Linked DNA regions of Homo sapiens: region 1 is linked to region 2. The links are contacts of gene promoters, found by promoter capture Hi-C in blood cells and fetal thymus (Javierre and others, 2016). All regions are on one chromosome and are shown on one strand. The core of a region is centred on a gene start or on the middle of the fragment in contact, and the rest is flanking DNA. Distances in the headings are between cores, read along the strand shown.

Region 1 (3,968 bases), core at 747-3,246, 450 kb after region 2:
AGGCGTGGGACCTCACTTTGCTGAGCCCTGGTTTCCTCATCTGTCAAATGGGCTTAAGGCCCTCTGCCTGATATGGGCGTGATAGGAGAGGCCAGAAGAGGGCGCGTGGACGATGATGGCCGGGCCTCGGTGGCAGTATCTATTCTCGTTTTTGCCAGCTCACAGACCTGGTGGGAGGTGGCATGGAGAATTCCAGACTTCCTCCAGTTGCCATGTTGGTGAAAACTGTCTTCATGCCAAAGAGGCAAACTCACTTACACGCTAACAGGCTCAAACAAGAAACTAAGATTTGGCAGCATTTGAAAACAGTTAACAAAAAATAAAAAAAGGAAGGAAAAAAAAAAGACAATTTAGCTCAGCTCTGGAATCAAGGGAAACTTCACTCTATATAAAGATGCCACAGGTCCAGGAAATAGCTTCCCACCGCCTGGCTAAGGGCTGAATAACTGGCTGCCCAGCCAATAACAATACAGACTCACACAGCACACCCTTTCTTGTGGAGAGCGCGGAGTGGGTTCCCGGCTATCTCCTTTCAGAATTTCACAGGCTATTCACGGAAGGCATGCAGATCTACTTTGTAAGAATTAGTTCTTAAAAAAAAAAGATCTGAAGACGACTTCCAGGGAGGCCAAGGAGCTTAATTTAGCCAGCCAACGCCCTTTTCTATTCATTGTTCTATACTTCTTTGTTAGGATTTTTTCCCTCCCTCTTACTCTTTTTCCCTTCCTGGTTAACTTCTCTGCAGCCAGGCTCCGCCACTGCCCACTTCTCACCGCCAGAGACACTATAGCCCCCTTCCCTGCTGTAATGAGGCCCTCCCCAAGGCCTCATGTGGGCCCATCACCCCACATCCCCTTTATCTCCACCTAGAACCTGCGAGGTGGTCCCAGGGCCTCCTGAATCTGCAGACGTGTCCCCTAGGTTGCTGCGGAAGCCACTTTCCACCTGCAGGTCACCGTCAGCCCCAGGCACCCCTGCTGGAGGGAGGGAAGCCCGAATGCAGCTCTATGTTCCAGGACCTGCAACCTCTGAGCCTCAGCCTTCCTATCTGCAAAACGACGCTACTGTCCCATTTTCTCAAGTCCTTGCCAGCTCCAAACAAGATTCCCATGTTCCAGAGGGAGATGCCAGGAGAAAACTTTCGTACATTTTAAAACAGAAGTTACTGGAGAGAGGGGGCAGGGGATGTTTTTAACCCTTTAAAGGCGTAGCCACTCAAATGATCCATTCCCAGAGATCTCCTCCATCGCCCAGGCCGGCTCTTGCCAAAGAACGGAGTCAAATTCGGCGAACCCTAGAGGGGCTACCTGTGGCTGGGGACTGCGGGTCTGCGCGCCTCTGGACAAGGAGGGGCAAGGCGGGCGGCCTGAGAACAGGCACTTCTGTCTCTCCCGCTTTCTGTCTCAGACCCCTCACCGGCTGGAGCCAGACTTTTCCACAGATGAGCAGGACGGGAGTTGGGGGGACACGGAGAAGACAGAAAGGGGTAGAGGAGCCGCAGGGAGGCGAGTAGGGGGGCGAGGCGGGAGGAAGGGATGGAGGGGGAGAACGAGGCAAAAGCGGGGAGGGGAGGGGAGGGAGGGAGGAGGAGTCGGGAGGGACCCGGGCAGCGCCGCCGCAGAGCCGAGGGGAGAGCAGGGGAGGAGGGGACGGGAAGCGCTGGAGGCAGAAGTTTTCCAAGCCGGGGGCCCTCGGTCGCCCCCGACGGGGCGCGGGCTCAAGGGGGCGTGGGGGCCGCGCCGCACTCACATAATGCTTGTTGGGCACCCGCCGCTTCTGCACGTCTAGCACCTTCACCTCCACGATGCTGCGCCGCGGCGGCATGGCCGCTCCTCCGCCCGCAGCGGGCCGAGCGCGGGTGCGGGTGGCGCGGGGTGCAGGGAGCGCTGGGGGCGCGCCGCCGCGGGCAGGGAACCTGGAGCTGAGCGCAATCGCAGCCGGGGCCGAGCACGAGCCGCCGCCGCCACCGCCGCCGCCCTTCGCTCGGCGCGCACTCCAGCCGGGCCCAGCCGCCGCCGCCCGCCCCCGGCCCGCCCCCCGCACCGCCCCCCGCACCGCCCCCCGCACCGCCCCCCGCGCCGCCGGCCCGCCCCCCTTAAAGGGCCCGGCCCCGACCCCCGCCCACCGCGCGCGAACCCCGCCGGCCACGTCCGGCCCCCGCCCGGCCTTTGTCCCGGTGCTGAGCCGCCGCGCCGGGGGAGGGGACTGGACTGACCCCGTCGCCCGTTCACTGATTGACGTATCGATTCATTCCAGCACTCTCGCTCCGGCAGCCGCCATCCACCGCCAGTTTGGAGAGCCGGACACCCGGGTTCGAATCCCGGCTTTGCCGCTTTTCCACTCTGTGCCCTCGGCAAGTTGCTTAACCTCTCTGGGTTGGGTCTCTTCGTCTATAATATGAGCCTAGTAGTACAAGCACCATGTTTGTCTTTTTGTGTCTGGCTTATTTCACTCGGCATAATGTCCTCAAGGCTCATCCATGTTGTAGCACGTGTCAGTAGTACCGCCTGCCTGCCGGTGCTGCGCCCGGGATTAAGTGCATGTGAAGCCATTCCGCAGTGCAGTCCATGGTATGAGTGCTGGCGTTCCTAAAGCCACCCCAAGCCCTGGTGATTCAGGAGGAGCAAGAGACCCGTGACCAGGTTCCCCCAGCCTCAGTCTGGGACATGGGGAGTGAGGGAGAGAAAAACTGCAACAAATGCGCATACGTGCAATGTAATTGCCATGGAAGCAACAAAAGGGGATAAAAGGGTGGTGACTATGTGTGAGGGGCAGCTGGGTGCTTGTTAGCAAGGCCATCGATTTCCAGTTGCGGAGCACTTAACTGCTCGCTGGGCCCCGTGGCCCCTGCTTTTCACAAATGCTGTCTTTGCATCCTCAGGCAGACTCTAGGAGGAAAAGGTGTTTTTACAGAGGACGGCCTCCAGACATTTGGACATTTCCAATGAGGCCTGAGGACCCTCTGACTTGGGAACTGTACTTCAGAAGAATGTGCCTTACAGGAATTACATCAGTGAAGGTCCAGAGTCAGGGAGCCGGTGGATGGAGCCCGTCACTGCCTGGCTCTAGGTGGATCTCACACGTTGAAGCTGCCGTGGCTGGGGCAGCTCCTCGTTTCTTCATCTAGTGCCTCCTAGCACTGGCTGGGCACTGAGTCACTTTCAGGAGATGTTGGCTGAATGAATGGATAAATGAATATATAATGCATGGATGGGAGGTTTAGGCTCCTGGCCAGTGTTTTCACAGCCAGTAAGTGGGGGCTCTTTTCAACAAACCGTACGACTCTTCTCCATGCCACGACAGAGCTACTTCCCACCCCGGTCCAGGATCAGCCTTTGGAAAAGGGTGGGCTTATCCAGGGTAGGACGGCTCTCAGCCTCGGCCAGGCCACGTGGATGATTTGGGCTGATTCACTTTGGATCCGCCCCTCCATTTGCTCCTCTGACTTCCTTGCCAGACTTTACCATCCTGCTCCAGCCCCAGAGGCTGGCCTGTGTGGATTTCACTGACAGCTCTCTGTCCTGGTCTTCCTGTTTGGCTTGGCCAGTGGAAGGGCCTGGCAGGAGATTGAGGGCAAGAGGAGAGAGGGAGGTCTGGGTATTTAATCCCTAAGCCCCTCCTCCCCGATTGTTTTTACCAAAGGTGCCCTTTCTCACATGGTCTCTCTCAGGGTTCCTGAAGCCACTTTTCTGCTCAGGACAGTGACAGTCTTGCTGTTGCAAGCCCTGGGTACTACGCCATCCTCGGTGCTTCCTTAGCCCCGCCCACACCCGTATACATTGACCCTTTACTAAACTGTCTTCATGGACCCAGCTTGAGGGTGGCATCTGTTCGGTGCCAGGACCCTCACTCATGTAATTCCTGTAAGGCACATTCTTCTGAAGTACAGTCCCAAGCCAGAGGGTCCTGAGGCCTCATTGGAAATGTCCAAAGAAGTGAAGGTCTGCTTTTCCGTCCCTGCCACATCG
Region 2 (4,208 bases), core at 1,368-3,867:
ACCATCAGTTTAACCCCTTTTCCTCCATCAATCGTATTATCTTGAAACCAATGTAAAAAATATTTTTAACCCAGTTCTGGAAACTGTAATTGAAATGCAGTGAAAACAGAAAGCCACATGCAATTAGATTCTAAGGCATTATTTCCTACATTTGATCCTGGATTTACTCAATCAGTTGTTAAGCACCTGTGCTACTTTACTAAAATAAATACACATATTTAATTTATGATAAGGGTTGTCTAAGAGTCTTAACTGATATCCCTTTCAGGAAATATCAAAATCCTTAAATAAAAGGCCATTTTAAAATTAATCGTAATATAACTAAACTCTGTTAAATTTTCAAAGAATTCCAGTTTAAATCCCAGTTTATAATGTCCTTAACAGGCTGAAATCTCTTTTCTGATCAAAACCAAGTGCTATCATGTAAAATCAAAACTTTTTAAGTTATAAGCATAGGAAGCCAGTGAATTTAGGCCAAAGGTTTTTATTTTTTTATTTTGTAACCATACACTGACTTGGGTTACAACGTATTTCTTATAATTCTTTTGAAAATAAATACATTTTCGTTATTTTTTAAAGGAATAGAAATGGAAGGAGCTGGGAACAGCCAATTTCAAAGAGGCACCAAGTTACAATTTTTCGATATGAAGTACTTCTGTTGTAAGTACATGCACTGTGTGTACATTCTTAAGAATATGTAATATACTTAGTCGATTTAAGATAGTTACCAAAATAACCCACTACAAAAGTTACAGAATACCAAACACTTGACTACAAGTATGATAAATTATGCTGAAAAGGAAAAATCACTCAGTATGTGACATCCCTTTGAAAACAACCCCACGTGCACACACACACACACACACACACACGCATGCAAAAATCAAAAACTATCAGTTTCTTTTTTTCCCTCCTAGTTTTCAAGAATGCTAGAGAAGTCCAGTTCTGTGAATTATGCAAAGGACAGCAAACATTAAGCTGCCTCCATATTTATGCTACTGTACTTCCATTTTTAAAACAAGCATCTCAACTCCCCAGACACCATCATCCACAGAAACCATGCAGCTATCCAACAGACTTTCAGTGTCACCATTTATTATTTATAGCGTTAAATGGGGGAAGTGGCTCTGATGTCACCAACCCTACCCAGTGGAATCACTGACTCAATAAACATTTTCACACTGAAGAAAATCTGGCTAGGAAAACATTTTGCTGGGTTAAGTAGATTCTTCCACCTCTCCTCTCAACCCTGGGGAAGAAGTTGTTACCGTGTTAGGAAAGATACAAAGAAACTGTCAAGGCTTCCATAGGAAGAAATCCTGGACATGTCCATTTGCTGATGCAGACTTCCTCTTCCCAGCTCTCCAGAGCCCAATTTGATTTCCCTCATGTTCACGTTGGCAGGTAATATCTGCCATATTTTATTTCTTCCACCAAATCATCCATCAATTAGCAAATTCTTCACTTCTAGCCACTCTCTCACTGTCCTGTTCCTAAAAACCCCTTCTGGTTTCAAATCCTAAAGCTTCGGAGGAGGGTGGAGGGTGTCCACGGACCGGGAGTCTGGCCTGGCTGCCAGTGGTTTCTAACAGAAGAGTGGTCGCTTCCCCCGGGGGCCAAGGATTCCCCTCTTTTTTTTTTCTTTCTGAGAAGAAAGACCTCGCGGCAGTGATGAGGATGGCTCCCTCCCCAGTCATCTCCAATTTCCCAAAGCAGCTCTGGAAAACGTGAAGTTGCGCCTTCTCTTTCCTGGAGGATGGAATCCAGAGTACCTGGGCCCTTGCTATGCAAACATCCCTCTCCGCCGGGTAGGAAACCCTTTGTCCGAGAAGCCGGACACCACAAGGGCCCGGGAAAGAGGCCTCCTTATCCGCCACAGCCTCAAACCCGAAAGCTCCCTGCCCCCCCAGCTCTGTAGGGCCTATCCTGGCATCCACACAGACCTAGGCTGGGGAGTGGGTGCTGAGACCTCTCCTAGGACGCGGAGGCCCAGGCGGCCCCAACCCATCTCCGTACTCCTTCCCACCATCTCACTCGGCCTGAGTGGGGCTTGCAAGCGCGGTGCGGGCCTGGGCCGAAACAGAGGAAAGAAAAAAAAATCCCTTTCTAAAAGAAGGAGAATGGGGTGCTAGAGCGAGTGCGACCTAAGTCTACAGCATAAACGAGCGAGGGTCGTCCGAGAGCTGGGACCGGAGACGGGACCAGGGGGAGGGGGAGAAGCGAGGGGCATGGAGGGGGCCGGGCCAGGACCGGCCGGAGATGTCGAGGGATCAGAGGAGCCCGCGCCAGGTCCGAGGCCAGGGAAGGCTGGGGGCCCGGGTCTGGGTCGAGGCGTCTGGGAAGGGCCAGAGCCGGCCTCGCACCGGACGTTGAGGTGGGCAGGCCCGCCCGGGGCCGGACGGACGGAAGCACAGACGGTCCAGCGGGCCGCACTCACCATGAGCTCGATGGTCTTGTCCTCAATCACCGAGTCGGGCTCCATGGCGGCCCCGGCGGCCCCGCCTCGCTCTCCCCGCGCAGCAGCGAACGGCCCGGGCGGAGGAGGCGACGGCGGAGGCGGCAGAGGCGGAGGCGGCTATCGCACCCACTCTAGCTGCCAGCCCGCCCGGGCCGCCGGCAGCTCCGCCCTCCCCCTCGGCGAACGCAGTACGCAGATCGGGGACTACACCTCCCAGCAGGCGCCGCGGCCCGCAGAGCGTTGTGGGACCGAGCCTCTGACACCAGGTTGCTGGCTCTTGGCAGCCCGAAGCTGAACTCCGAGCTGAGAGTAGCACTGGACGGTGGGCGTAGGACGTGCAGACCTGAAGAGTTAAGAGCTTGCTCATGGCAGGGCCTCGAGAGCGCCACGACTACGTGTCCCAGAAAGCCGTGCGCCCGGGTTGTCCTTCCGGCTAGCTTCTCTTGACTTCCTGGCAGCCCAAGGCTGCCCAGACCGGGACGGAAACTCCGAGGCAACTCCTCACTTGTCGGAGGTCCTGCGTATGCGACCCATTTCCGCACATGCGCGGTCCATGCCGCAGTGCTCCCTAGACGCCTAGGTAGCTGCGCGGCCCGTCCGGCAGTGTCTGATGGTAGGGGCAGATGGTGGAGACAGGTGGGTTCTAGGTGCGTTAGGAAGGTGTATAGACCTGGGGCTCAGGTGTGGGAAGGGGCCAGCGAGTGAGAGAAGCTCGGCCTGGGGAAGAGGCTCTGAGAGGATGGGCATCCCAGGAGTGAGAGTTTCGAGATTTCTTCGGGAAAGACGGGGTTTTGGGAAATGTGCTGTGGTGCTGTCTGTATGTCACACGATCTGCGAGGAGCTGCGAGATTAAAGGGGACGTGCGTATATCGAGCCCCTCATTCATTCGTTCAGAAAATGGTTATTTTTTAAGCATCCAGCTTCCGCTGCGTACCGTTCTAGGCGCTGAGAATCAGCTCTGAACATGACAGACAAGGCTCCTGTTCTCATGGAGCTTAATTCTGGTGGAGGGACGACAGACACTAACCAAAAGAGTGGCTAAGAAGGAACACACAAGCGGAGACTCCTTCTAGTGAACTCAGCCTCCAACTCTGTGTAACTTAGGTCTGTCCGTGCCCTCTAACCAAATCCCACCAGGAAGACACGGATCGTTGAACAAGCTGGGTTTATTACTAGTTGCAGTGACTGAGAACACACATTGAGGAACGATAGGGCCTCTCGGTAAGAGTTGTTAGTGATTTGGGAGAGGGTTTAAGGAAGTGAGAGCTTCACTGGATTAGATACTGTCAGGAAGAGAGGGTCGTTCCATGATTGAGCATCTCAGTTCATCTTATCTAGAGGAAGGGAATTCTAGATTGAGGCTAAAGCTGTGCAGATAAAGAAACAGCAGCCTGGCCGGGCGCAGTGGCTCACGCCTGTAATCCCAGCACTTTGGTAAACCGAGGCAGGCGAATTGCTTGAGCGCAGGAGTTCCAGACCAGCCTGGGCAACATGGCGAAACTCTTCTCTACAAAAAATACAAAAATGAACCGGGCCTGGTGGTGCGCGCCTGTCATCTCAGTTACTTGGGAGGCAGAGGTGGGACGATCGCTTGAGCCCAGGAAGTGGAGGTTTCAGTGAATGGAGATCGCACCACTCCACTGTACCCTGAGTGATAGAGCCAGACCTTGTCTCAAAAACGAAAAAAAAAAAAAAAAGTGCAGCAGCAGCTCCCTCATATTAGCCAAGTGGGGATGTTGAGTCATTTTTT

The links. Contacts are between HindIII fragments. The CHiCAGO score rates a contact against its expected background, and 5 or more counts as called.
Region 1: a contact is called between the fragment with the promoter of SH3PXD2B here and the fragment with the promoter of FBXW11 in region 2, in 1 of 17 cell types (erythroblasts). The highest score is 5.0, in erythroblasts.

Annotation. Positions count from the first base shown.
Region 1 is chr5:172,452,529-172,456,496 of GRCh38, forward strand. It overlaps SH3PXD2B (SH3 and PX domains 2B), which reads right to left and starts at 1,997. Exons shown (of 13, transcript NM_001017995.3): 1 at 1,750-1,997. The coding sequence starts at 1,824. RefSeq lists an enhancer at 963-1,484. The HindIII fragment of the contact is 9,231 bases long and covers 1-3,968 here.
Region 2 is chr5:172,004,021-172,008,228 of GRCh38, forward strand. It overlaps FBXW11 (F-box and WD repeat domain containing 11), which reads right to left and starts at 2,618. Exons shown (of 14, transcript NM_001378974.1): 1 at 2,438-2,618. The coding sequence starts at 2,482. RefSeq lists enhancers at 1,783-1,902, 2,502-3,129, 2,673-2,942 and silencers at 2,243-2,352, 2,363-2,642. The HindIII fragment of the contact is 14,963 bases long and covers 1,524-4,208 here.